Linked DNA regions of Homo sapiens: region 2 is linked to region 1. Evidence: promoter capture Hi-C in 16 types of primary human blood cells and fetal thymus (Javierre and others, 2016). All regions are on one chromosome and are shown on one strand. Each heading gives the region's core, a stretch centred on a gene start or on the middle of the fragment in contact. The rest is flanking DNA. Distances are from core to core; before and after follow the strand shown.

The links. The method cuts DNA at HindIII sites, captures the fragments that hold promoters and counts their contacts. A CHiCAGO score of 5 or more calls a contact.
Region 2: a contact is called between a fragment that was not itself captured here and the fragment with the promoter of KANSL3 in region 1, in 1 of 17 cell types (non-activated CD4 T cells). The highest score is 5.3, in non-activated CD4 T cells.

The regions. Positions count from the first base shown.
Region 1 is chr2:96,636,869-96,640,723 of GRCh38, reverse strand. KANSL3 (KAT8 regulatory NSL complex subunit 3) reads left to right here and starts at 2,412. Exons shown (of 21, transcript NM_001115016.3): 1 at 2,412-2,441; 2 at 3,539-3,803. The coding sequence starts at 3,589. RefSeq lists a silencer at 2,483-2,692. The HindIII fragment of the contact is 21,308 bases long and covers 1-3,855 here.
Region 2 is chr2:96,996,724-97,000,870 of GRCh38, reverse strand. It overlaps the pseudogene LOC100420569. Among named protein-coding and RNA genes, the nearest start is that of FAM178B, 12 kb to the right of the region's middle. The HindIII fragment of the contact is 4,040 bases long and covers 1-3,976 here.

The sequences.
Region 1 (3,855 bases), core at 1,163-3,662:
GATAATTGCCCAAAATGACAAAAAAAAATTTTTTTTAAAAAACCCTCAGTCTTGTTAATAATCAAAGAAATACAATGAAATACAATTTATGACTTTGCCAAATTGGTTTCAAAAGCCAAAAAAGATGTAAAAAAAAAAAATCAAACTCACTGGGCACGGTGGCTCACGCCTGTAATCCCAGCACTTTGGGAGGCCAAGGCGGGCGGATCACGAGGTCAGGAGATCGAGACCATCCGGGCTAACACAGTGAAACCCCGTCTCTACTAAAAATACAAAAAATTATCCGAGCATGGTGGCACACGCCTGTGGTCTCAGCTACTCGGGAGGCTGAGGCAGGAGAATCGCTTGAACCAGGGAGGTGGAGGTTGCAGTGAGCCGAGATCACGCTACTGCACTCCAGCCTGGGCGACAGAGAGAGACTCTGTCTCAAAAAAACAAAAACAAAACAAAACAAAAAACTCATTAATAAGCAAATAAATGGGATAAGATACCATTTATCACCTCTTAAATTGGCAAAGAATGAAACAAAATGATAAACGTGGTGTGCTGAGGAAAGGAAGGGGCAGAGAAAAGATACAAATCTGTTTTTAGTGGGAATGGGAATATAAGTAGAGAAATAGCAGAACCCTGGCCCCAAACAAGCGCCCAGGAGACAAAGTTAAGGGTAGGGAGAGGTGGGGCAGGGGCTGCTCTATTTGTGATAATTTCTATGGCCTTAAGCTCCATATTTCTAAACAGCACTTTTAAATAGCATTCCTTGATTTTTTCAAATCTATGAGGCATTTTCCCAGTTTTATTGTTTTCCCCGGGGCTCTCCCTCCTGGTCTTCTCTTCTCCCCCAGCTGAGACTAGTGGTCCCCAGTCCTGCAGCATAGCTATTGTCCTGGGATACTCTTTGCCATCACCTTCAGAATTCCTCGTCTGCTTCTTGTGTTAGACCCTGCTTCCCCGATCCTATGCCTTCCGTCTTCTCAGTTTACCCTCTCATCTTTGTGGAACACAGCTTTGAGTGGCTTTCTGAATGTTTCGAGTGTTTGCATGTCTGTACCTATCTTTTTTTTTTTTTTGAGACAGAGTCTTGCTGTGTCGCCCAGGCTGGAGTGCAATGGCGCGATTTTGGCTCACCGCAACCTCTGCCTCCTGAGTTTGAGAGATTCTCCCACCTCAGCCTCCCGAGTAGCCGGGATTACAGGCATGCGCCACCACACCTGGCTAATTTTTGTATTTTTAGTAGAGACAGGATTTCGCTATGTTGGCCAGGCTGGTTTTGTACTCCTGAACTCGTGATCCACCCTCCTCAGCCTCCCAAAGTGCTGGGATTACAGGCGTGAGCCACCGCACCCGGCCATTTCTTTTTTTAAATAGAAACGAAGTCTCACTGTTTTGTGCAGGCTAGTCTTGAACTCTTGGGCTCAAGCAATCTTCCCACCTTGGCCTCCCAAAGTACTGGGATTATAGGCATGAGCCACAGATCCCGGGTGAGATTTATCATCTTGAACCATGTCTCTTGCTGTCTTGTCTCATGTCTCTTGATGTCATGTTGTCAGTCAGTCAACCAAATAACCAATTATTGATCAGTCAACATTTGAACAATTACCTATGTTCTGGGTGTATGTTCTCTGGAGGATACAAAGGTTAATGTCCCTGATTTTGAGGATCTACTCTCTCTACACAAAACACATAGGAAAGTTAACCACACAAAACAATCTAGGGTCAGTAACAAAATTCTTTTTTTTTTTTTTTGAGACGTAGTCTCACTCCGTCGTCCAGGCTGGAGTGCAGTGGTGCAACCATGGCTCATTGCAGCCTGGACCTCCCAGACTCAAGTGATCCTCCCACCTCAGCCTCCCGGGTAGCTGGGACTACAGGCATACACCACTATCACACACACCTAATTTCTAAAATTTTTTGTAGATACGGGGGTCTCATCATATTGGCCAGGCTCATCTCAAACTCCTGAGCTCAAGAGGTCCTCCCGCCTAGGCCTCCCAAAGCGCTGGGATTACAGGCGTGAGCCACATTAGGTAAATTCTTAATGAGTAAATTCAGGTGGCTGCCCTGGTGGAGGTGGACCGTTGGGTGCTCGACCGCCCAGAGGGCACAAAGGACCAACACGGTGGGGGTGGCGAGAACTGGGGCCGTAGAAGCCAGCCTAGTCCTCCGCCCTCGCTTTCCCTACTGAATATGCGCGAGGGGGAAACTCCAGCCTAGTTGTTGACTTTCTGCTTCGGACATGCTCGCGTGTTCTTGGCTCTCCTCTTCCGGACAGAGGCGCCGGAGCTTCATCCGTTCCGGGCTTTGCCGCTCACCGCCTCTCCCTTCCCAGGCCGTAACCCGCTTCCGCGTTTTACTCGGTGCCCGCAGCGCCGGGGCGTGGAGGCGTTAACGCGCACGCGCTTAGGGATCCGGCCGTGGCCGAGCGCGCGGCCGTAAGACCGCGGGTGAGAGCAGCGTTGGCTTCGAGGGGAGTGGCGGGCCGTGGGGATCGCGGCCGTGGTTGGGACGGCCGGGGGTCTCGGCGAGGGCTTCAGGGCTCCCGGGGCATGCGGGGGCCCGGGCTAGGGCCGGCTGCCGGTGCTGGTCGGGCGGGGCGGGTCGGGCCGGGGGCGGGCTGGCAGGGGCCGCGTCTGGGCCTCCGTGACGCGGACGCCGAGCCCTGCCCCAGGGAGCGGGAGGCGGGAGGCGGGGGCCAGGCGGCTCCTCCTCGTCGCGAACTCTGGATGACCTTGGCCAAATCGCTTCAGTTCCCCGAGCTGGCGACTTCGTCTGTAAAATGCGAGTCATAGCCCTGTCTCCTAGATGGGCCGTGTGGAGGCTCAGTGGCGGGAACGCCTGCGGGGCAGCCGGGGTCCTGGGCGGTTTGCTAGGGACGCCTCACTGGGGGTGAGGGTGAAAGGGCTTCCACGGGGATCATTTTGTCACAGGCTTTGTTGGGGGGGCAGTTTTCATTTTTATGTAAACAACTCTGGAATATTACGAAGTACTTAACAGAACTTTTGTTTCGCACAATACGAGAGGCTTGAAGAAGTGGAGCCCTAGCTGGGATTCGCTTTTTTGAGGCCGGCGTTGCCCTGCCCTTTAGGGGTGCCCACGCTCTAGCTGCGGCCCCGGCTCCCTTCGCATTGTCGTTAGAGGATGGTGTGAAGCAACAGAGATCCTTAGCTTTCAACGAATTCATATTTGTGATTTCCTGTTTGTCAAAACCCTTCCTGCCCACCTAGGAAGTGGTGCTGGCCAAGCAAGTTTACTGTCTGTCCACGCGAGGTCTTTCTGAACCTTGGGGTCGGTGAGCTCTCCCGTTAGGTAATTTCAGTTCGCTAGAGGTTGAGTATGGGACAACTCGTGGCACCATAGTTTTTTTTTTCTTTTTTTTTGGTGTTGGTGTGGGATTCCACGAACCGTCCCCACCAGAGGTCTGCCGTGAAATGGATACTCAATAGGAATGATAGTAGGTTACAAAAGTAAGCATGTTAGATGGTGTAGATTGGGAGAAATTTAGGATATTGGAATTGACCTAAACTGAAACTTTTCACTGCAGGTGACTAGCATGCAGATACCCATGCTCTGACTTTCTGCCCCTCCACTGACATGGCCCACCGGGGTGGGGAGAGGGACTTCCAGACTTCAGCTCGACGCATGGGCACCTCGCTGCTCTTCCAGCTTTCAGTGCATGAACGGGAGCTGGACCTGGTTTTTCTGGATCATAGCTATGCCAAGCCTTGGAGTGCCCACCCAGATGCCAGTAGTGCCCGCCCCACCCGCATGCTCTTTGTCACTCCCCGGCGGCAGCACGAAAGTACCATGTGAGTTGGGGCTTCTAAGGGCTGCTGGTAACCTCACTGGGCAGTGATCAGA
Region 2 (4,147 bases), core at 707-3,206, 360 kb before region 1:
ATAAGTGGGAGTTGAACAATGAGAACACATGGACACAGGGAGGGAACATCATCACACACTGGGGCCTGTCAGGGGGTGGAGGGCAAGGGGAGGGAGAGCCTTATGACAAATACCTAATGCATGAGGGACTTAAAACCTAGATGACGGGTTGATGGGTGCAGCAAACCTCCATGGCACATGCATACCTATGTAACAAACCTTCACATTCTGCACATGTATCCCAGAACTTAAAATAATAAAAAAAAGAAACGCCAAGCTAAATGTATAATGAACAGATTGAAGAAAAATAAAGAGCTACAGAAAATCCAGGACATCAAAGAAGTCAAGCAAAACATTTATCTTATTCAAGCTCCTCTTGCAGGCAAAGGAAAGCAGTTGGAAGAGAAAGTGGTACAGCAATTACAATAGGCTGTGGACATGGAAAATATCTCTTAAAAGTCTGTAGGCTGGGCATGGCGGCTCATGCCTATAATCTCAGCATTTTGGGAAGCTGAGGTGGGAGGATTGATTGAGGCTAGTAGTTTGAGACCCCCCTTCTCTACAAAACATTTTTTTAATTAGCTAGATGTGGTGGTGTACCCCTGTAGACCCAGCTACTTGGGGTGGGGGTGTGGGGATGTCAAGAGTGGGGAGGCTGAAGTGGGAGGGTTCCTTGAGCCCAGGAGGTCTAGGTTGCAGTGAACTGTGATTATGCCACTGCACTGCAGCCTGGGCAACAAAGTAAGACCCTGCCTCAAAAAAAAAAAAAAAAAGGCTCGTAATCATTTCTTTTTTTTTTTCTTTTTTTTTCTTTTTCTTTTTTTGAGACAGAGTCTCGCCCTGTTGCCCAGTCTGGAGGGCAGTGACACGATCTCAGCTTACTGCAACATCTGCCTCCCGGTTTCAAGTCATTCTCCTGCCTCAGCCTCCGGAGTAGCTGGGATTACAGGCACCTGCCACCATGCCCAGCTAATTTTTGTATTTTTAGTAGAGACGGGGTTTCACCATGTTGGCCAGGCTGGCCTCGAACTCCTGACCTCAGGTGATCCACCTGCCTTGGCCTCCCAAAGTGCTGGGATTACAGGTGTGAGCCACCGCACCCAGCTTTCATTGTAACTATTTCTATTTATTTATTTATTTATTTATTGAGACAAAGTTTCGCTCTTATTGCCCAGGCTGGAGTGCAATGGGGTGATATCATCTCACTGCAACCTCCACCTCCTGGGTTCAAGCGATTCTCCTGCCTCAGCCTCCCCAGTAGCTGGAAGTGCAGGCATGCGCCCCCACGCCCAGCTAATTTTTTGTATTTTTAGTAGAGATGGGGTTTCTTCATGGTGGTCAGGCTGGTCTCAAACTCCCGAAGTCAGGTGATCCACCCGCCTCAGCCTCCCAAAGTGCTAGGATTACAGGGATGAGCCATTGCGTCTGGCCCATTGGAACTTTTCCTTTCTTTCCTTTCTTTCCTCTTTTTCCTCTCTTTCTCTCTTTCTTTCTTTCTGACGGAGTCTCCCTCTGTCTCCCAGGCTGGAGTGCGGTGGCGCCATCGGCTCACTGCAAGCTCCGCCTCCCGAGTTCACGCCGTTCTCCTGCCTCAGCCTCCTGAGTAGCTGGCACTATAGGCGCCCGCCACCACGCCCGGCTAATTTTTGTGTGTGTGTGTATTTTTTAGTAGAGACGGGGTTTCACCGTGTTAGCCAGGATGGTCTCAATCTCCTGACCTCGTGATCCACCCGCCTCGGCCTCCCAAAGTGCTGGGATTACAGGCGTGAGCCACCGTGCCCGGCCAGAGTTTCGCTCTTGTTGCCAGGCTGGAGTGCAATGGCGCGATCTCGGCTCACTGCAACCTCCACTTCCCAGGTTCAAGTGATTCTCCTGCCTCAGCCTCCCGAGTAGCTGGGATTACAAGCAGGCGCCACCACGCCCAGCTAATTTTTGTATTTTTAGTTACTAAAAATACAAAGGATGAAGAGCAGAAGGGAAATCCCCAAATTCAAGCAAGCACAGAAATCCATGATTGGAGACGGGGTTTCGCCATGTTGGCCAGGATGGTCTCAATCTCTTGACCTCGTGATCCGCCCGCCTCTGCCTCCCAAAGTGCTGGGATTACAGGCGTGAGCCACCGTGCCCAGCCCATTGTAACCATTTCTATATGTACGTTTAAAAATGTCCTTTGGAGACTTAGAACTTCCAAATTATTTATTTTTTTACATAAGGGCACTTAAATGAAAGGTGATTAAAAAGACATCTCTCCGGCCGGGTGCGGTGGCTCGGGCCTGTAATCCCAGCACTTTGGGAGACCGAGGTGGGCAGATCACGAGGTCAGGAGATCCAGACCATCCTGGCTAACACAGTGAAACCAGGTCTCTACTAGAAATACAAAAAAATTAGCCAGGCGTGGTGGTGGGCGCCTGTAGTCACAGCTGCTCAGGAGGCTGAGGTAGGAGAATGGCGTGAACCCAGGAGGCGGAGCTTGCAGTGAGCCGAGATCTCCCCACTGCACTCCAGCCTGGGCGACAGAGGGAGACTCTGTCTCAAAAAAAAAGTCTCTCCTACATTGCTGTCTGCAAAACATCAGATGTTACGGATGTTAGACTGCATCTCAATGGTAAATCTTCACTGACAGGTTTACTTACATCAATCATGAAAATTCTGTTTGTAGGCTGGGTACGGTGGCTCATGCCTGTAATCCCAACACTTTGGGAGGCCGAGGCAGGCTGATCATGAGGTCAGGAATTTGAGAACAGCCTGGCCAACATGGCAAAACCGCATCACTACTAAAATCACAAACATTAGCTGGGCATGGTGGTGAGCACTTGTAATCCCAGCTACTAGGGAAGCTGAGTCAGGAGAATTCCTTGAACCTGGGAGGTGGAGGTTGCAGTGAGTGGAGATGGCGCCACTGCACTCCAGCCTGGTCAACAGAGTGAGACTGTCTCAAAAAAAAAAAAAGAGAGAGAAAATTCTGTCAATACAGAAGTGAATTGTGGACGTAAAATGGTCATGCCATTTGGTTAATGGCACTAGGCAGCATTCATACAACAACTAATGACAAAAATTCACAGCTAGTGATATATAAAATAAAGTATTTTTGCAGTAAACAAACAAAATTGGCATGGCTTCCAGCTGAGCTCACCTTCACCCCACTCACCTTGTAAATGGGGTCATCCTCTGAGTTAACACAGTGGAATCCCCCTCCCGTCTCTCTCTCATGTCTGTCGGTTCTTCCCCAGCAATAGTCCCTGGAGTGGCCCCTATTAAGGGCCTTGACATCCACTCCCACACTCAATTTTACAACCACCTCCTTTGGGACTCCCTGTTTCGCACCCCTCCTGTCTCTGGCCTCTGTTCCTTGAGTCCTGAACCTGAACTGGATTCTGTCCTGCCCTGTAAGGTCCTCCTCAGGCTGGCTGACACCTAGGAGTCCTGCACTTGCCCACTGATAAGCGACATCTCAGGCCTCAAGCATTCATGCCTTTGCACATTTTATTCCCTTTTCCTTGAATGCTTTTTCTCCTCTTGGAGATAAATAGTAAATTCCAACTCAAATTTCAAGACTTTGGGCAAATGTTACCTTGCCTGAGGTCATCGGACCCTTCCAGGCAGGGTCCCCATGTCACTTCTGTGTGCTCCTGCAGCCTCCGGGCACACCTCCATTGTGGGGTTGAGTACATGGCAAGGTTATTATCTTTTTGCACATGTTTTGAGTCTAGGCAGTGTGGCAGGTGCTCAGTCTTTGTTGAATGACTGCATAATGAAGGGTGCATTATACAGGACAATTGTTTCTCCATCTTTTGATATACCTGGTTATTCAAACCTACATCCATTTTGTTACATAATGTCCTTGTATAAAATCACACATGAGAAATTACTTTTGGAATTGAAAATAAGGAAAAACACGTTATTTCCTTCTATTGTAGAAACTCTATGTTATAAAGAGAAGCATGGAGTCCTTTGTGTTCCCCACCCGCTTCTCTTCTTCTCTTGCTTCCAAGAAGCTTAGAGCCAGGTTTAATGTTCATTCACAATAATCACATTAGCCTTCCTGAACAGAATTTGGCTTTTCCTCCTCTTTCTGGTTCTGATTTTCTATCTTTTCTCTAGTAACCTCTTTGAAATCAGGCAGTGGAATATGGAGGGGAAGGAATGGGTTCTGTAATCAGAGAAACAT